Linked DNA regions of Homo sapiens: region 2 is linked to region 1. The links are contacts of gene promoters, found by promoter capture Hi-C in human tissues and cell types (Jung and others, 2019). All regions are on one chromosome and are shown on one strand. Each heading gives the region's core, a stretch centred on a gene start or on the middle of the fragment in contact. The rest is flanking DNA. Distances are from core to core; before and after follow the strand shown.

Evidence for each region. The method cuts DNA at HindIII sites, captures the fragments that hold promoters and counts their contacts. A contact is called where the count stands out against the background at its distance.
Region 2: a fragment that was not itself captured here is called in contact with the fragment with the promoter of NPAS1 in region 1 in 2 of the 25 tissues and cell types used here (IMR-90 fibroblasts and dorsolateral prefrontal cortex).

Annotation. Positions count from the first base shown.
Region 1 is chr19:47,017,803-47,022,815 of GRCh38, reverse strand. NPAS1 (neuronal PAS domain protein 1) reads right to left here and starts at 2,979. Exons shown (of 12, transcript NM_002517.4): 1 at 2,819-2,979; 2 at 1,647-1,810; 3 at 969-1,204. The coding sequence starts at 1,768. RefSeq lists a silencer at 2,983-3,042. The HindIII fragment of the contact is 24,576 bases long and covers 1,963-5,013 here.
Region 2 is chr19:46,932,142-46,937,035 of GRCh38, reverse strand. The region is part of intron 2 of ARHGAP35 (Rho GTPase activating protein 35); the gene reads right to left. Among named protein-coding and RNA genes, the nearest start is that of ARHGAP35, 74 kb to the right of the region's middle. The HindIII fragment of the contact is 9,795 bases long and covers 1-4,894 here.

The DNA of each region.
Region 1 (5,013 bases), core at 1,730-4,229:
TTTATCTGTATCTTACAGAGTTTATATTTTTACATATTCTAGATTATATTGCTTTGCCTATTTCTTTATTGCGTCTTGGCCACTAGGATGCCAGCCGCTCCGGGGCAGGGACTTTTGTCTAGATTGTTTCTCCTGCTCAATCCCAGCGCTCAGAAAAGTGCCAGACAGGCAGGAGATGCTCCAAAAGCGACAGCCCCCCCGCCCCCTCCTCCATGCCCCGAACCCCTCCAGCAGCCCTGCAAGGTTACTGCTGATAACAGCATTGGCCGCATAGCGGTGGCTTGCTCTGAGCTAGGCACTTCCAGGGACTTTGCAAATATGACCTGGTTGATTCTCTGCTCAGCCCCCTGGGGGAGGTTGGACCGTTTTTTCCCACTTCACATTAAGGCACAGAGAAGTGAGGCGACCTGCCCGGGGTTGCAAAGCTGGGAGGTGGCTGCGCGGCGACAGGAACCCTGGGGCATCTTCCTGAAGTTCCCCATCTCATCCGCCACATCATACTGTCTCCCTCTTGCTCCTCCAACTGGGGGCTCAGACTGTACAGTCCTTGCGTTCCCGCCGGGGCCCCTCAGGTCTGGATCCAGGGTATCTCGCCCATTAGCGAATGGGCGTCCCAAGCCAGGGTGAGTCCCCTCTGTCCCGCTCATGCAGCTGGGAGTTTCTTTGGTTGTAATAATGATTCCTCTCCTCTAATAAAAATATAGGAATAGCATTTACCAGTGACCACTAGAACTGCCAGGGCCTTGTTTAGGGCAGAATTCACGAAATCTTCCCAACCTCTTGCGCCCATTTGACAGTTTAATAAACTGAGGCTTGGAGAGCAGAAGCCACCTGATAGGGACACGCAAAGGTCCTGGCTGACTCCAGAGACAAGCATCTGGGCGAGGGCAGGCCCGCAGCCCGGATCTGGGCTGCAGTGACTCCGCCTGGAGGGCCCCGGGACCCTCGCCCCGCGCATGAGCACTCACCGAGGCCAGCTGGCGGCCCCGCGGCTCTCAGCCCCCAGGGCGGCGCCCCCAGCGCGGCGAACCGGCGCAGGCGGAGGTAGGTGACGCTGAGGCGCACGATGGAAGCCTTGTCCAGCTGGCTGGAGATGGCGCCGGGCAGCGGGAGAAGCTTGGCCAGCTCGAAGAACTCCAGGTTCTCCTTCCCGCGCCGCGAGCGCGCCGCGTTCCGGGACTTCTCCTTGCGCTGCGCCTGCAGGCTGGGCGGGCGGCGCGGAGGAGGTGTCGGCGGGGCCCCGGGGCTCAGGGGCTTGGGAACTGGGGGCGAGCCCCGCCTCCCGGGGCCTTGGGAACGGGACGGGACGTTGGGAGTGGATTCCACATCTCTGGAGGTGGGAGCAGACCGGAGTGTGGATTTTACACTCCGACCCAGGGACAGAACCTCGAGTGTCAATTCTGGTGGGAAGGAGGAGGAAGGGCGAGAGATTAAAGATGTTGGGCGTGAATTCTGAGGACCGGGACTAGAAGCAGAACGCAGGGGACCGGGCTCAGGACGGTAGTTAACTCAAGGTAAGACCTTCTAGCCCTAAGGGGCGGGTCAGGGAGCTGGGTGTGAACTGCCCCTTGGCACGGGGACAGAACATCGGGTGTGAATTGGACCCGGGGGGGGGCCCGCGGCCAGGGGGGCGGGGCTTTGCTCACCACGGTCCGGACGGCGCCTTGACCATCAGCCCGGGTAGAAAGTCCCAGGGGACGCTGGCGCCGCGGCCTCCCACGCATTTGACCTCGCTTCCGCCGCCACTGCCGGGATAGGGGGCCGCCATCTCCGGGGGGCTCGCTCAGGCGGGCTCCGAGCCCCGAGTCTCCTGCAGCGGGAGGGGGCCAGGGGCAACGCTTAGTGCCCTCGGGAGACCTTCTAGGGAAACTGAGATCCGTGCAGGGCTCAGGGTCCCAGCAAGGAGCTGGGGGGGGGGGGGCCTGGATGATGCCTCAGTTTCCCCTACCTGGAGGCCTCAGCTCCCACCCTAGCCGGCCCGGGGCTGGCGCTCCGGGTGAGGACGTGCCCCGCCGCCGCCTCCCCCGCGCCGCCCGCCAGCGCGCCCGCCTCACGCCCGCGCCGGGCCGGCTCCCGCATACCAATGGGCGCACGCGGCGCGCATACGGATCGAACCGGCCCGCGCGCTGCGTGCCAAGCATGCCCAAGCCGGGCGGGGGGCGGGCGCCTCCCGGGCCAGGCACGCACGCCCCAGCCCCCGGAGCCCTCTGCCCCGAGGACCCGCCCCCCAAGCCCATCCCCGGTGTCTGACTCCCCGGATCTGCACCCTGTTTTCCCGGCTGGGCTAAGGAGGCAGGGGGCAGAGGGCAGGGACCCCCATCCTGTGTCCTGCCCAGGGATCCCCCCAGCCTCTCGGGATGGCGCCACGTGTTCGGACCGCCACATCCCCACGACCACAACTTCCTCCCTGAAGACCCCGGCGCGCGAGCCCCAGCCCCGGACGCAGCCGCCGCAGCCTCTGCCCCAGGACGCCCCCAGGATTGACCCGACACTCGGGGCCCAGGTGTCCTGGTCTCCTGATCCCCTAACGTTTTCAGTTAGGTCTTCATTCCTCCAGGACCAGGCGTTCAGAACACCCCCTAACCCCAGGAACCAGGCCGCCCCCAAACCTCCCAGCCAGGTGTCCAGATGCCCCAGACCCCCGTGTCCAGGTCTCCCAACCCCAGATTTCTCCAGGACTCAAACATCCGTGCGCCCCTTCCCCCAGGCTCGGGATACCCTCGTCCCACCCCCTATCCCCCAGGACACTGGAGTTCCAGCCCCCCATTCCTCTGGGACCCAGAAGTCCCCCTCCTGCCAGCCCGCAAGCTTCCCCTACCCGCAGGACCGCCAGTCCGATTACTTGGCCGCAGAGCAGGCTCCGGGCGCGGCGTGGGGCCGGCCGGGCGGCGCGGAGGGGCAGCTCCATAGACCCCGGGGCGCGCGGGGCGCAGCGGGACGCGCGGGCTGTGGCGCCCAGCTCTCGGCGCCCACCTCGGCCTCGCAGACTTGGAGACGCGCGACCAGCGCTGCGGGCGGGGGCGGGGTCTGCCGGAGCCCCGCCCGCCGCGTCTCCGCCCCCGGACCCGCCCTGCTCGCCTTTCCCTGGTAGGGGGCCAAGCTACCCTGGGGTCCGAGTTCCCTTGCCCCACGGTAACGTCGGGGGTCAGAATGTAGCACCTCGGATCGGAGCTACCCCACTCCAAAAGGGGAACAGCGGAGTCCGGGCACTGTCTACACCCCTTCAGGAGGCAGTTAGTGCCCCAGCAGCCCCTCGGGACAAGACAGGTACCCTGCAGCCGAGCCCCATGTACGAGTGAAGACTCACGTCAGTGCTTCCTCCAGGGACACAAATCCAGAATTCGAGACCCTCCCTTTCCGGGAGAGAACTCCTGAGTGTCAGCACACTCTCCCCCCACAGGGCTGGGACTTCGCATCCAAACCCAACCCGCCTTAAAAGGGGGACATACACCTCCCTCGTCAGGGACCAGGATCCAGCTCTCTAAGGAGCTCCAGAGACCAGGATCCTGGCGTCTTATCTCCATCCCCCGCCGCAGGGACGGGAACCCTTACATCCAAGCTCCCCATTAGATCATAAATGGGAACTCAGGGGTTGTAGTACCTCGCACAGAGGACGGGAACCCAGGCGTCCAAGCCAGGCCTTCCCCAGTCTGATAGGAGGTCCTACAGTTCCCCTAGCTCCTTCTCTCCATGCAGCCCCCACTTCCCGTTCTCAGGGTCCTCCCTGGCATGGGGGTCTCCAGGCACTTAAAAGCCTCTACATGACCTTAACATGGGGAAAGAAAATGGAGCTGGGGCCGGGCGCGGTGGCTTACACCTATAATCCCAGCACCTTGGGAGGCCAGGGCGGTTGGATCACCCGAGGTCAGGAGTTCAAGGCCAGCCTGGCCAACATAGTGAAACCCTGTCTCTACTAAAAATACAAAAATTAGCCGGGTGTGGTGGTGGGCGCCTGTAATCCCAGCTACTCGGGAGGCTGAGGCAGGAAAATCCCTTGAACCTGGGAGGCGGAGGTTGCAGTGAGCCGAGATCCCGCCACTGCGCTCCAGCCCGGGTCAGAGAAGGAGAGTCCATTTCGAAAGAAAAGAAAAGAAAAAGAAAATGGAGCAGGGAGTCTTAGAAGAGGCATACAGTCAGGGGCTTGCAGGGAGCACGCGCTGGCCTTTGGTTGGGCAGATGGGGAAACTGAGGCACACACAAACACCCGTGTGCATTTGCTCACAACACACAAACTCATTCATGATCCTCATAGTTAACACTTAAGGGAGTGCTTGTTTTTTGCTAATACTTTATTTTATAGCAAGATTCTGAGATGGGCTCTGTTACTAGATGCATTTTACAACTAGGGAAACCGAGACATGGGGAAGTGATATAGCCTGGTGATAGTGGCCTCTCAGACAACAGATCCTTATTTATCCCCAGAGAGACTTGCTAGAGTTTCAGGGCAAGGAATCAAGCTCAGATCATGGGCTCCTGTCTCCTGACAGCACTTCCTGGCTGTGCAGCCTGGGCAGGTGCTATGCCAGCCATGAGAGGTACACTTGTGCCATTAATTAATTAATTAATTATTTTTGAGACACAGTCTTCTCGCTCTGTCACCCAGGCTGCATGATCACTACTCACTGCAGCCTTGAACTCCCAGGCTCAAGAGATTCTCCCACCTAGCCTCCTAAGTGGCTGGGACTACAGGTATGCACCACCCCACCCAGCTATTTTTTAAAAATGTTTTGTTGGCCGGGCGCAGTGGCTCATGCCTGTAATCCCAGCACTTTGGGAGGCTGAGGCGGGTGGATCACCTGACGTCAGGAGTTCAAGACCAGCCTGGCCAACATGGTGAAACCCCATCTCTACTAAAAATACAAAAATTAGCTGGACACAGTGGCGTGCACCTGTAGTCCCAGCTACTCAGGAGGCTGAGGCTGGAGAATCGCTTGAACCTGGGAGGCGGAGGTTGCAGTGAGCTGAGATCACGCCACTATACTCCAGCCTGGCAGACAGAGCGAGACTCCGTCT
Region 2 (4,894 bases), core at 710-3,209, 85 kb after region 1:
AAACCGTGTCTCTACTAAAAACACAAAAATTAGCCAGGCGTAGTGGTGGGCGCCTGTAATCCCAGCTACTTGGGAGGCTGAGGCAGGAGAATTGCTTGAACCCAGGAGGTGGAGATTGAGGTGAGCCGAGATTGCGCCACTGTATTCCAGCCTGGATGACAGAGTAAGACTCAAAAAAAAAAAAAAAAAAGATTTCAAGAAGGATTAAAAAGATTCGCTTGGCTCATCTCACTACTTTTAATTTTCTATCTTCTGGCCTCTGAATACCACACAGGATGCCAGAAAGTCACACCTTGAGTATGAGACCACATTATTAGAACAAAGATGTTTATAAGAAGCAGTCCATGTTTATGTAATAAAATAACAATACGATGATTATCTACATCCTCTACCAGGGATGCACTGGAGTAAACAGGAAGTTTTCCAAACACCCTACAAGGATAATAGATGTTACATACTCAAAGATAGCTAAAATCTTTAAAAAAAATGAAATGGAAAACAGATTATTTCCTCTTTCTAGAAAAGAGAGCAGGCATTCTGCTAGGGCTGATAGACCCAAATGAGAATGTCCTTTGATACATTAGCTTGGGGTTAATTCTCAGTTGCATCCACATTAGGAAAAGGTAAAGTCGACTAATCAAACAAGACAAATAAAGTATTTTTTTTGTCTATTTTTCCCTAGTCACCTTCTTCAAGAAGTACTAGCAGCAGCAGTAGCAGCAGCAACAGCAACCACTTGAGAACTTACTATGCACAGACTAAGTTCCAAATATTATTATTATTATTATAATTTTCAGACAGGGTCTCCCTGTGTTGCTCAGGCTGGAGTACAGTGGCACAACCACAGCTCACTGCAGCCTGGACCTCCTGGGCTCAAGTGATCTTCCTACCTCAGCATCCCAAAGCTGGGACCACAGGCATGTACCCAGGCTAATTTTTAAATTTTCTGTAGAGATGAGGGTCTCACTATGTTGCCCAGCCTGCCAAATATTATTTCTTTTAAACCTGATGACACTCAATCTTACCAAGGAAAAAATCTCTCACATGCCTAAATGACACAACTACTAAGTGACTGCTTGGATTCAAATCCAGGAAGGTTTGTCTCCAAAGCCTATGCTCATTAACATGATTAATACTGAGATACTCTGCCTCAAAAGTATTCAATCTTTTTATTTTGAACCTTAAATGGAGAAAAAATTACTCTAAACAAATGATAAATTTCCTAAAGCCAAAGAAATACACTTGAAATTTTGGCCTTTTGTTAAAATATCTACTAAAAAAGAAAAGTAACCAAATAGGATCAAGGTAAATTAGACCCAGGTGTATCTCCAGCAATCCAGTTACATTTTCCAGTTGATGAAACCAATTTAGAAAAGCAGATTTACTCAGAAATGTGCACAGCCCATAAACCTAAAGTATTTAGGGATTTTACATAAAATCCACTGAAGGAAACAACGAACCGCCAGGCCGCAGGCCACCTATTCCCTCTCCTTCTCCTGCCCATCTTCGTTCCTACCAGTACCCCTTTGTATAAGAAAAAAATCACTTCCTGTTTAGTCTGAGATTCGTTGAGAACTTCCTGTGCAAACAAATAGCAAGAAAAAAAAAGAACAGATCAGAATATAATGTACACAAGGAAAGAGCAAGATCATTCCATTTCTGGGCTGCTGGGTGAGATTACTTCAAATGACAAACCAAAGGCAATGAGAATCCAATCTTCATTCAGCCTGCTACCTGACTCAATATGGAGAATGCTATAATGTGAATGGATTCTGGGGTCTCAGGGAAGAACCATGTACTCCATAAAGCCTGTCCCCACTCACTGTGAGATACCTGCTCCTCATAAAGTAGTGGCATAGCCTCCTAGGTTCGGGGGAATGGCTGCTGCTTGCTCCCCTTATAGACTGAAGCAAACAGGCTCTGACTTCAGACTTTTTTTACCAAAGAAGTAAGGAAATGCCAATTAACGATGTATGATATACATTTACAGGAAATAATTTAACGAGTCTATACTGTGTCTCTAGCATCTTCTACTTATATGAAGTATAACATAAAGAATTTAAGGCTGGGCATGGTGGCTAATGCCTGTAATCCTAGCACTATGGGAGGCTGAGGTGGGCAAATTGCTTGAGCTCAGGAGTTCAAGACCAGCCTGGGCAACATGGTGAAACCCCATCTCTACAAAAAATACAAAAACAATTAGCTGGGCGTGGTAGCGCACACCTATAGTCCCAGATACCTGGGAAGCTGAGGTGGGAGGATCGCCTGAGCCCAGGAGGTCGAGGCTGTAGTGAGCTGAGATCGTGCCACTGCACTCCAGCCTGGGTGACAAAGTGCGACCCCGTCTCAAAATAATAAATAAGAGGGCTGGCCGGGTATGGTGGCTCACACCTGTAATCCTAGCACTTTGGGAGGGCAAGGCGGGCGGATCACCTGAGATCAGGAGTTCGAGACCAGCCTGGCCAACATAGTGAAACCCTGTCTCTACAAAAATACAAAAATTAGCCGGGCATGATGGCAAGTGCCTGTAATCCCAGCTACTCAGGAGGCTGAGGTGGGAGAATCACTTGAACCCAGGAGGTAGAGGTTGCAGTGAGCCGAGATTGTGCCATTGCACTCCAGCCTGGGCGACAGAGCAAGACTGTGTCTCCGGGAGGAGGGGCGGGGTGGGGAAGAGGGGCTGAGTGCCTCTGTTTCACACATTGTTGCAACCAGATAACAATGATTCAAACAATGCTCTCCCCACTTAAAATGTTTCCTATTTTTTTTTAATTTAAAGTTTAAAAGGTTAAAAGTCGAAAAGTTTTACATTTGGAGTTTAAAAGGTTAGCTATACAATCTGAATAACCAAAGAGCATCTGTACTTAAATCACATTCATCCATCTTCTATCATTGAAGTTTTTAACAATCTCAAATCCTACAGAATATGCCTGTTGAAACTAACAGCACTGTTCAATAAAACAGGCTTCCAAATAAACCGCTGTGAAGGAACAGAAATGGAAGCTGCAAAGAAGCTATTCCTAATCACCTTAAAGCCTCCTTCTAACCATGGTTCTAGGAAACAGACAACAAATTTCAATCTTACATTCCCCCACCCTCTTAATACTAGGAACAAGATGATGCTGGTGTGTTCTAACAATCTAACTTAGCCAGGAAATTTAGCCTTCATCAACTGAGTAGTTTCTGTGTACCAGAACCTAGCATAAGTTCTTTTTTAGATAGGGTCTCGCTCTGTCATCCAGACTGCGGTGCAGTGGCGCAGTCATAGCTCCCTACAACCACAGCTTCCTGGGCTCAAGGGACCCTCCTGCCTCGGACTCCCAAAGTGCTGGGATTACAGGCATGAGCCACCGCACCCAGCCAGTATAAATTCTTTACAAGCACTCCAGATTCAAAATATTTGTGGGTGTGGGTATTAAAAACTCCATTTGATAGAGGCCAACTCCTAGAAAAAGTAACTTGACAAAGTCAGGTCTGTATGACTGCGAAACCTGTGCTTTTAACCACCACGGCTTATAATCTAGTGAAAATTCTTGAGATGGAGAGAATAAATAAATGGATGACTGAGTAAGTGAATAAAAGCACACTAGCTGGGCTTGGTGGCTCATGCCTGTAATTCCAGCACTTTGGGAGGCTGAGGTTGGCAGATCACTTGAGGCCAGAGTTTGAGACCAGCCTGGCCAACGTGGTGAAACCCCATCTCTACAAAAAATATTACAAAAAAATTATCTGGGTGTGGTGATGCATGCCTGTAGTCCCAGCAACTCGAGAGGCTGCAGTGGGAGGATTGCTTGAGCTGGGGAGGTGAAGGCTGCAGTGAGTCAAAATTGTGCCACTGCACTCCAGCCTGGGTGATAGCAGGAGACCCTGTCTCGGAAAAAAAAAAAAAAAAAAAAAAGAAGGCACACTGATCACTGATTATCTGGAGGACTTCCAAAGGTTTCTAAAGGTAATAAAGATCCACTCATATAAAATACCAGGGAACTTTAAATTGGCAAAGAGAATAATGGGGCACTCTGATAGCTATTTTCAAATAGCTATAGAGCTACCTATTGACTATAGAGCAGGCTTCTTTTACATGGCTCCAAAGGGTCACATTGGGAGCGATAAGAGAGACGGAAGGCTAACTGAGACAACTGCTCCTATCTCTTTCACCTCAAAGAGCCCCAGATTTAGTTCAATCCTTCCATTTACAACAGTGGATGTGGAGGGTAAGCTTTTGCAGTAGCATCACCCCACCTCCTTGCTGAGTGACGTGGATTCAATCTCACTCCCTATTTTTTAAGACAAACTCTGGTTTACAGAATTTCAGAATACCTCCTTGAGATAACTGAAGGCTCTCTAGGGTGTCACAAAATTGGAACTCTTGCAAAATGAATTCTAAACCTTCCTAGTAAGAAAATCAGGGTTTGGGGTGCATGCCAAGAGCTGGGCCAGACTGCTGATAGAAACAACACTTCAGGCATCTGAAGGGTTACTGGGCATATTTCTCATGGAAATGCCATTCTCCTGAGTGGCCTGCCAGATATCTCATGCCCCCAGTCAGACGTGTGTCACTCTTCAGGGAGTTATTGGGTGCACTTTCAGCAACAGGTCCTTGAAAAGGAGAAAGTAACAACACCCAACATCCATCTTCTTCCGGAGGCACTTACCTATTAGCAGGCTGAACTGAAAAAAGCATCTAGCCAGAGGAATTCAATCCCTGAGAACAATCTCCACATGTGTGCCTCTAAGTTTATTTATTTATTTTTACTGAAATGGAGTCTTACTCCGTCACCCAAGCTGGAGTGCCGTAGCGCAATCTTGGCTCACTACAACCTCCGCCTCCTCAGTTCAAGCCATTCTCCTGCCTCAGCCTCCTGAGTAGCTGGGATTATAGGCATGAGCCACCATG